2 separate regions of the Homo sapiens genome follow, and region 1 is linked to region 2. The links are contacts of gene promoters, found by promoter capture Hi-C in blood cells and fetal thymus (Javierre and others, 2016). All regions are on one chromosome and are shown on one strand. Each heading gives the region's core, a stretch centred on a gene start or on the middle of the fragment in contact. The rest is flanking DNA. Distances are from core to core; before and after follow the strand shown. Region 1 has its middle 27 kb from the start of NRG2. Region 2 holds the start of IGIP (IgA inducing protein).

Evidence for each region. Contacts are between HindIII fragments. The CHiCAGO score rates a contact against its expected background, and 5 or more counts as called.
Region 1: a contact is called between a fragment that was not itself captured here and the fragment with the promoter of IGIP in region 2, in 1 of 17 cell types (naive CD8 T cells). The highest score is 5.5, in naive CD8 T cells.

The regions. Positions count from the first base shown.
Region 1 is chr5:140,067,988-140,073,376 of GRCh38, reverse strand. No RefSeq gene overlaps it. Among named protein-coding and RNA genes, the nearest start is that of NRG2, 27 kb to the right of the region's middle. The HindIII fragment of the contact is 2,734 bases long and covers 201-2,934 here.
Region 2 is chr5:140,123,342-140,128,238 of GRCh38, reverse strand. IGIP (IgA inducing protein) reads right to left here and starts at 2,302. Exons shown (of 1, transcript NM_001007189.2): 1 at 1-2,302. It overlaps PURA (purine rich element binding protein A), which reads right to left. Exons shown (of 1, transcript NM_005859.5): 1 at 2,620-4,897. The HindIII fragment of the contact is 9,298 bases long and covers 1-4,538 here.

The DNA.
Region 1 (5,389 bases), core at 318-2,817, 54 kb after region 2:
TATATCTTTTTTAGGTGAATTCCTATTTTTTTAATTAAAGAAAGCAAAGATTATAAAATAATCTATTTCATTGTTCGAAATATTGCCATTCCTATCTCTACATTATACATTATTTTATGTATCCCAAAATATCAGTAGTATTGCCTTTATATTCAACTATTAATATTGCAAAAGTTTAGATCCCCCCAATGGAAAAAGCTTAACGTACAAAAGTTATTCAAATAGCTAATATTTGTTGTATGCTTAGTATGTTCCAGGCAGTACTGTAAGTTCTTCTTGTTCTTTTTTTTTTCTTTAAGACAGTGTCTCCTTCTGTCGTCCAGGCTGAAGTGCAGCGGCGCGATCTTGGCTCACTGCAACCTCCACTTCCCCAGCTCGAGTGATTCTCCTGCCTCAGCCGCTGGAGTAGCTGGGACTACTAGGCGCGGGCAACCACACTCAGAGAATTTTTGTATGTTTTGTAGAGATGAAATTTCGTCATGTTGTCCAAGCTAGTGGGAGCTAAAATGGTACAATCTTTCACTTCAGGAAGCTAACTTGGTAATATGTATCAAAAGCCTTATTTAATGCACATATCCTTTGGTATAGCAATTTTATTTCTGCAGGTTGATTTTTAAAAATTAATTCAAGATACATATCTATTAGAATGGCCAAAGTCCAGAACATGACAACACCAAATGCTGGTGAGGATGTGGAGCAACAGGAACTCTGGTTCATTGCTGGTGGGAATGCAAAAGGGCACAGCCACTTTGGAAGATAGTTTGACAGCTTCTTACAAAACTAAACATACATCTTACTATATAATCCAACATTTGAACTCTCTGGTGTTTACCAAAAGGAGTTGAAAACTTATGTCCATACAAAGACGTGCACATGGATGTTTATAGCATCTTTTATAATTACCAAAACTTGAAAGCAACTGAGTTGGCCTTCATTAGAGGAATGAATAAACTGTGGTATACCCAGTAAATGAAATATTCATTGCTAAAAAGAAAAAAGCTATCAAGCCATGAAAAGACGTGCAGGAACCTTAAATCCATATTGCTAAGTGAAAGAAGCCAATTGAAAAAGTTACGTATTATATGATTCCAAACTGTATCACATTCTGGAAAAGGCAAAACTATGGAGAGAGTAAAAGGATCAGTAGTTGCCAGAGTATGGGGCGAGGGAAGGATGAATAGATGGAGCACAGAGGATTTTCAGGGCAGTGAAAATACTATATGATACTATAATGAATGTATGTCCAAACCCATAGAATGTACACCACCAAGAGTGAACCCTAATGTAAGGTATAGACTTTGGATGATAGTGGTGTATCAATGTAGGTTTATCTGTTGTAATGTATGTACCGCTCTGGTGGGGGATATTGTAATTGGGAGCCTGAACATGTATGACGGCAGAGGCCATAAGGGAAATCTCTGTACCTTCCTTTCAATTTGGCTGTGTGCCTAACACTGCTCTAAAAAAAAAATACAATCTTAAATATAATAAAATTGGATCACATCACACACCATAAAAAAGAAAGACATTAATTGAATTTGTATGAAGATTAAGGTACAAGGATGTTCATTTTAGACCTTTATTGGAGCAAAAAATATTGTAAACAACTTAGATATACCATAAGAGCAGAGTTTAATTATGGAATATTTGTACAATAGAATATTCCTTGCCTCCCACATCTAAGTCATCAGAGCAAGTTCTCCATTACCTCCAGAATAGATTCTGATTCTGTTCAATACTCTCCATCTCAATGGCCACCATTCGAGAACAATGCCTCACCCTCCTTCATCTGGATACTAAACATCTTCCTAACTGGTCATCCTGCTCCAGCTTCTACTCCTTTGATCCATTCTTCACATAGCAGTCAGAGCTGTCTACTTTGCTGCCTGGCTAGCTAGCTAACCATTTGTTTAAAGTATTAAAAGCACCCATAAACCTACCACATTAGGCCCCTACCCGTACCATGCCCTAACTCCTCCCATGCCAGGCAGCCATCAACCTGAATCCCCACTCCCTTGCTTTCCTTTTTATATAGTGTTATTGTATTTATAAGCATTCCTAAATATGCATATTTAAATGTTTTTAATTTAATAAAAAATATCATGTGGCACACAATAATTTTTGCACTTAGTGGTATTTGTTAAGATTCATGCATGTTGTTGCATGTCACCACAGTTCGTTCATTTAAACAGCTGTGTAATATTCCACTGTGGTTATGGATTTAGTTTATTCAGTCTCTTGTTGATGGGCATTTTGAAGATTTTTTCCTAGGTTTTTATTATTGTGAATGATCCTGTCATGAGCATCATGGTCCATGTCTCTTATTGTATATGTGCAAGAATTTCTTTTGGATATATATCTAGGAGTGGAATTTTTGCATTTTAGGGTACATAAATGTTAAACTTTAATTGTTTGCCAAACTGTTCATCAATTTACTTTCCAACTAGCAATTTTTTTATTTCATTTTATTTTGTTTTGAGACAGGGTCTCACTCTGATACCCAGGCTGGAGTGCAGTGGCATCATTTTGGCTCACTACAACAACCTCTGCCTCCTGGGCTCAGGTGATTCTCCCATCTCAACCTCCCAAGTAGCTGGGAATACAGGTGCGCACCACTACACCAAGCTAATTTTTCTATTTTTAGTAGAGACGGTTTTGCCATGTTGCCCAGGCTGGTCTTGAACTGCTGGGCTCAAGCAATCCTACTGCCTTGGCCTCCCAAAGTGCTATGATTATAGGTGTGAGCCACTGCTCCCGGCCAGTTCTTTACATGAATATCTCATTTAATACTCACAACAACCCTATAAGTACTATTTATGCCTAACTTGAAAGTGAGGCATAGAAGGATAAATAATTTACTCAAAGCCATACAACTAATAAATAACAGAGCTGGGATTTTGAATATAGGTAATACGGTTCTAGAGTGCTGAAGCTTAACAACTGTGAACACTGTTTGAAACAGAAAAAAAATTGAAGGTAATTTAAAATTTTAACAGTAAAGCAATAGCTCAGCAAACTCTAGCATATCAGTTTGATAGAATGCTATGTAGACATTTAAAATAATAGACTCAAAGATTATATGATAAGATGAGAAACTGTTTATAACATGAAAACTCCAGCCAATGTCATCATACAGTGTATGTGACACTCTAATATATTTATTATTTCTTAAGTTTTCAAAAACTTATTTAAAAATAATATCAAACTTATAAGGAGTTGCAAAAGTAAAAATCATACAAGGAACATTTGAATATCCTTTACAAAGATTCAGCCATTGCTAACATTCTCTTTCTGTTTACACAGACACACACACACACACACACACACACATATTTTTTCCTTAAACCATTTGATGTAGGTTACATATATCTTTTTTTTTTTAAGGCAAGGTCTCACTTTGTCACCTAGGCTGGAGTTCAGTGGCATGATCTTGGCTCAACCTCCTGGGTTCAAGTGATCCTCATGCCTCAGTGCCCCCAAGTAGCTGGGACCACAGGTGTATGCCACCATGCCAGGCTGTATATATCATGGCTCATGGCTTTTTATCCTCAAATCATCCGGCATTGATTGATTGATTAATTGAGATATAGGGTCTCAATATATTACCCAGGCTAGCCTTGAACTCCTGGCCTGAAGTGATCCTCCTACCTCAACCTTCAGTAGCTGGGACCACAGGAGTTTGTCATAGGGCTCAGCTCAGCATGTATTTCTGAAGGAAAGGGGTTTGCTCTAGTTACTGACTTCATAAGTTTACCTTGATAGAATGCTATCATCTAATTTACTGTTCACATTCCAAAAGTTTTAGCTGATCTAATCATGTCCTTCACAGGTTTTTTCCCCTTCCAGTACAGCTTCAATTTTAGGGTCAAATATTGCATTTAATTGCCATGTCTTTTTAGCCACCTTAAATCTGGAACATTTCCACAGTCTTTGTCTTTTTTGACATTGACATTTTTGAAGAATACAACTCTCCCACCTTTCTTTTTTTTAATAGAACACTTCGTTTTGTTTGTCTGATGTTTCCTCATGATTAGATTGCATTTATACACTCTCAGCACGAATATTGCATAGGTGATGTTGTGACCTTCTCAGGATCTGGAGGCACACGATGTCCATCTATCTCTCAAAGATAATATTAATTTTGATCATCCAATCAAAGTGATGCCTTAGTTTTCCACTGTATAATCATCTTTTGTTCTTTCTTTCCTGCGACTAATAAGTCTGTGGGTGACACATTTTAAGATGGTGCCAATATCTTATTCCTTACCAAAAATTTCCTTTAGATTTAACTTCTATTGATGATTCTTGCTTGAATTAATCTGTACTATGAAAGTTGCAAAATGATAATTTTCCAGTTTAGCACATGGTCCCCATTGGCCAGTTGTCCCTAGAAGGGCAGCCTTATGACTTTCTTGGGCCCTCGGCACTTTTGTCTTTATTGTTCCTCCATATGATTTTAAAAAATTATATTTGATGACTTTGTTGCTATGAAGATAAATATAATCCAGGATGTTATTGCCAGTGCATTTATTTTTCTTCTGATTTCTTTTAAAAGAAGTTAAAACATTTTCATGCGCCTTTGAAAGTATCATGGGTCTCAGACACTGTGCCTAATGGATCAGTTGGCTCTGGGCCCTCACTGTTTTACCAATGGTTTATAATTCATTATTATATGTACTAGTTTGGTGCTTAATTGTCTCCGATTTGGCCAGTGGGGCCCCTTCAAGCTAGTCCTCATGTCCTTGCAATATGCTGTCACTTTTTTTTTCTTTTAGCACTTCCTTAACAGGATGGCATAACAGGGTGTCCTAGGCTCCAATGTATCTATGCTGCCCCAGCCCTGGAATCAGCCATTTCTTGAAGGAGGACAGATTCCTTTTAGAGGGGAATGGTACTAGAAACCAAGATCTAGGCACGAGGCATACTCATTGCTACCAGGTTTTATTTGCTTCTTGGACTTTTGAACAAACAGAGATGGGAAGTAAAGCCATGTATACACAAATGTGCATACACATACACATACACATATACATGTGCACATACATAAACATGTATATACATATTCACATTTTAGAAATCATGACTTCATACCAGTTTCTCCAATTCCAGTGCATCTCCACAAGATTCTTTTTTTGCCTTTCCCCATTTCATACTTACATATTCCTTTTTCCACGGTGAGAACCCTGACTCCCAATAACACCAACACATTTACCCATTTGCTCAATCCTAATTACATCTAAAATAATTTTGAAATTGCTTTGCCCATACTGCTACCATTAACAACCCTACTAAAAAGAGTTCATGACTCGTTTGCACTTTTCTTTCCTCATCCCCTCCAAAACTGAGGCCACACTGTTTTCATACATTTCTTGGATTAGTTTTTTCTTTT
Region 2 (4,897 bases), core at 1,053-3,552:
TTAAAGAACAATTCTATTTCTGAAAGGATATTGTTTTGACCATTCTTTAGAGAAGATAAATTTTTAAATTGTCATTAAAATGTTTCACTATAAAAATTTTACAAACTTGATTAGAAATTTCAAGATTATGATTCACAGCAGACAAATACAAACTGTATATTCCAACAATACCTATTCTTAGACTTTCAAACAGAGCACAACCATGTCAGCTGTGTTAACTAAAATTCTGAACAGTGTACTAAATTTATAAGTGGTGCTGGGTCTAGCAAGTGTAAATACACAGTATATTTCAATGAAAAGAATTGTCTTCTTTATACTTTATTTGTTTTCCCATAAGGAAACATTAATGTTTACATTCTTTAATAAAGTTAATCTTACATCAGAATATAACTTAATACTGTCAGCAACAGGGACCACACACAGTAAATAAGAAGCACATTTAAAATAAGTCTGATTTCACATAGATTAACATTTGTTGGTTAATAAAATATCGACAGTATTACAATCTTACAATATTTACAGTAAGAAAAATCTAGAGTAATATATACCTTTCACAGCAGGATTCCTTTTTTTAAAATTTCTTCCAGTTTGGGATTGTGTATACACAAAAAGCTCAAAATAAAGCAACTCTGCAATATAATCTTAAAATAATGGCTACTGGGGGAAATTCTATCACAACCATTGAAAATAATGGTGACTTCTCACGGAGTCTGTGGCATCTGAGAACCCAGTTAATTAACCAAAGTCTTGCTCATATTAGCCTCAGTTACCCAGATTAAAGCAGAACTCCGGCCTTCCCTGACTGCTGAAAACCCAACAGATTTTCTCAACATGCTATAAGGAAAGAGGAAAAATTGGTTTCAGCTCACACCTCATGGCTGGAAGCCTCTGGAAGCCTCCAGCCAGTGCACACTCCCCAACTTATGCTAAAAGAGGGCCAATTTCATCCCCACAGCATCACAAGAGTCCACCCTCCAACCACACAGTGCTCTGACACCAAGCTCACCCATTCCTCAACTCTTGTGCCTTAGGATAACACATGAACTTAGCCCACATAATACACACCAGCGTCTTAGAGACTTGAGACCAGGGCAAAGAAACAGACTAGTGTAGTTTGCACTGAGATCAGTAAGAAAAATGGGAAGTGATGCACATTTCCAATTAGAATGACAAGAAGAAGACCCACATCCCTAAACTGGAATTTGGCCAGGGCATCAGAGTTAGCACCCCCTCTCTGAGTACCGCTAGCGATTAGGATGTGTGCTCTGGGCCTCCTCTAAAAGAGAGCATCTACAGTAAGTAACACAGTATGGGACATTAGTTCAGTGACGACTGCCAAGAAAGCAGATACAATTCTTGAATCTGGGGCTGTCTACGGCACCTGAGGTCAATCATCCAAGCTGTGACCTGTCCCAACCCTGCTTACTTTAAGATATCTGATGGGCACAGAGCACTCAGGGATATGGCTGCTGGCTACTTTGGACTCTAGATCTCACAGGTAATCAACAGGTATCTGGGATTGAATTAGCAAACTGTACCATAGCTCCTTAAACAGACATTGTCAAGTCTGAAATCATGTCAAGCATGAATCTTCACTGTCAGGTCAGTAATCAAAGTGGGAGTCTTCCCACATCAGCCAAGGTTATTTTGTCAGAACCTTAGAGGAGTTGGACAGTTTTTCATGTTGCAAGTGATTGGTTTACTTATTTCAGTCAAGCTGGATTGGCAAACCAGACTGATTTATTTAGTGAGCTTTGTTTTTTTGATTCTTATGTGTGTGCTAACCCAAAGCTGTTGTATTTGGGCTAAATACACTGACAGAGAAAATTCAAACGACAAAAGTTTTCAGCAAACTTCTGTGGCATTTTTTCTTTTTGGAAGTAAATGCAAGATCTAAAGGTATTTCTACCCAACAACGTCTGTTTAAGTGTTTAATGTTATTTCCTTTTTGGTCCTATACAGAATGCTATGACTTCTATATAGGTCTGAATGCTGCTCCATGTAGATTCCTTCTGTATATCTAAAAATATATACTTTTCAGTAGTTCAATACATGGTTAATCTTCCCACAGAGGAAGATTTTTGTAATCACATGTTGCAAAGTAGAAAACATCTCCTTTCTAAGAAAGGAAATATACTTTCCTATTGTACACTTTTGAATAAGCCCAAAGGCATGCACCAAAAATCATTAATAAAACTAATACATGCAATAAAATGGTGTAGAGTTAGACTTAAAGTGCTGCTTCTCAATTTTTTTTAATTTGAAGAAGACATTTTGTCAGTTGTAGACTCAAAAATCTTTCCCCCACCCACCCTCCCCACCCCATGGCATTAAGAGAGAAAAGTAAAAAGTATGCATAAATCTTTTAACTATGCTTTACATGGGGGAAAGAACAGATGTATCAACTATCCTATATATCAACTGGATTCCCAGTTTTAAATAAAACCAATATTTACTGGTAAAAATTGTCAAAGCGAATACACGCAAACAAATGTTACTAGTAAATAAATGTTCTACATAGAGAATAATTTACTTTGGTTTTATGCGCCTTCTCAAAAATAACACTAGTGTCCCAACGTCACCAAACTGATGTGTTCCAGCAAAGTTGTAAGGCAAATCTTTTTTTCCCTAGTGACATCTTGTTTCCCAACAGACAAAACTAAAATCTTTTGGTGAGGAAGGGGTTAAGATAATGGCTAACCCCTTGGCATCCTGAGCATTGTGGTTTATCAAACTCTACCCTGCTAGAAATTGTCAGGCACCCTGACCCCTGCCTTGAACCAGGAAGGCTCCCATGTCTAGAGATGCCCTGACTCCTTATAAATAGCTTTCAGAACTTTGCTTTTTTCCCTTCTCTCTGGTTGTTATAATGTCTAACGAAGCTGGTTGCAATGTCACATTTTGCTAGTAGGGGCCACCATCTAACAATAATTCCAATATGAAAGGTTTTAAGCCAATAGTTGGTTCCTAATTTTATCAACGATTTGCACTAAAATTCTCTACAATTTACTTAGAGCAGAGATCTTTAACTTGGGTTTCAGAAGATGTGTGATGCCCCTGAAGTTGTATGCAAAATTATCCAGGGATGGGCATTTTTTTTTTCTTGGGTAGAGGATCCATCACACTGTCATCAGATTATCAAAGATATCTGTGACCCCCAAAAAGGGTTATAGGGACTTAGAGGGATACCCGTAATTCATTTTATACCAGGACTGGGAAATGGGGGCAGAAAACTAAAAATGGCCTCGAAAAAGGCCAGGGACAAATTGCTGATCTTTTCCCTTTATTCACATTGGGAAAATAAGTGCTTCAAACTGGAAAAATCATTAATTAAGCTGGTTAAACTCCATTAAAAAATAATCAAATCGCTTTCTAAATTTTTTTCATTTTCGATATGTGGTAAATTTTGTCTCCAAGAAAAGGTTTGGAGACTGAATTTTTCTCTTTTCCTAAAGGAAATTCATAGATAGAATGCTGAATATCATCCACATTTAAAGATTTGACAACATAAAAGTTAGATAACTCTTAATGATGTGAATCTTTAACTTATGATTTTGAGTAAAGGATTATCTAGAATCAAATATACACTTATTAATCTTCATTTCCCAAAATTGGTCCATATTTAGACAACTACCTGGCACAATTTCACTAGATAAACCTAAAATCTGAACAATGGAAGTTAAACTTCTACCCAAAGTAAAAACAAAGCCATAAGATTCCACAATTGAATTGGCCACAAACATTCACACTATGTTATAAAGGACTTTCTCATTTCAAATACATCACTGAATGTTCAACAGAATTTGCAAACATAAGATCCAGAATGACTAGCAAAACATGCTAAGAGCATGTCAAAAAGTAAAACACCACCTCTCCCCCCCCAATCTGGAAACACACTCAGGCATTCCAAAAATAAACCAGATCTGAAAAGAGGCCTCTCACTTGGTTTTAAGTATGAGGTGTGTACAAAGCTATGGGAAAGGGAATATAAAATGAAATAACCAAATAACTTACAAAAAATAATTTTAGCCAAAAACACATCTCTCTGTTCCATTGATAAAACTATCAATTTTTAAATTTTTTTGCAATTCTGAACACTGTGTTGCATAATATCACCAAGACAAAAAATATGTTCACAGGTACACTTTTTGTTATTTTCTTTCTAGAGCACATCTTTGAGGTCATAAGACCGCATCTGGTTAAAATAAAGTCTCTTGCCCTTGCTTCCCTTCCCCCTCAAAGTGATTCAACCCTGAATTCCAAAAAGGAATATTCAATATAACAACTTGAAAACCAGTTGTAACACTTAGACCATAAGGAAACTATATGAACATTATGGAAAACTACATGAAAGAGGGAGCTGCCACTTGCCACCCACTTCACTTCCAGCTTTTTAAGCATGTACCCAGCTAGACTCCTATCTCACTGACTTCAGTGAAACAAACTAACACACCAAATCTAGGCCATCTCAGGCTGGAAGTTAAAACTCGAAGACATCATTTCATATACACATACATATATATTCCCTATCCTAAGCTTTAACTTTGTCTATTTAAACAGTTTAATAAAGCTCACATTTACAAAGGATTTTATTGGCAAATAAAGGCCCATATTAAAAATTTTATCAGAACAAATTTTTGTTTTATACAGCTAACATTAAGAAATATTTTCTTGGCCTTATAAAATATTTTTAATTGCATATAATTTTTGCTTTGGGTGGAATATTGAAAACACAATTCTGCAAGAAATTAGAAAAGACTAGAAACAAAAGTGAAAGTGACTAGCCTTAACTTTCAAAAAATCAAGTGCAAAGATAAATAGTGCAAATAATGAAAACTAGAAATTTTACAGGCAACTTTAGTCTTTCCTGCTTTTGCACTTTTACACATTGACAACT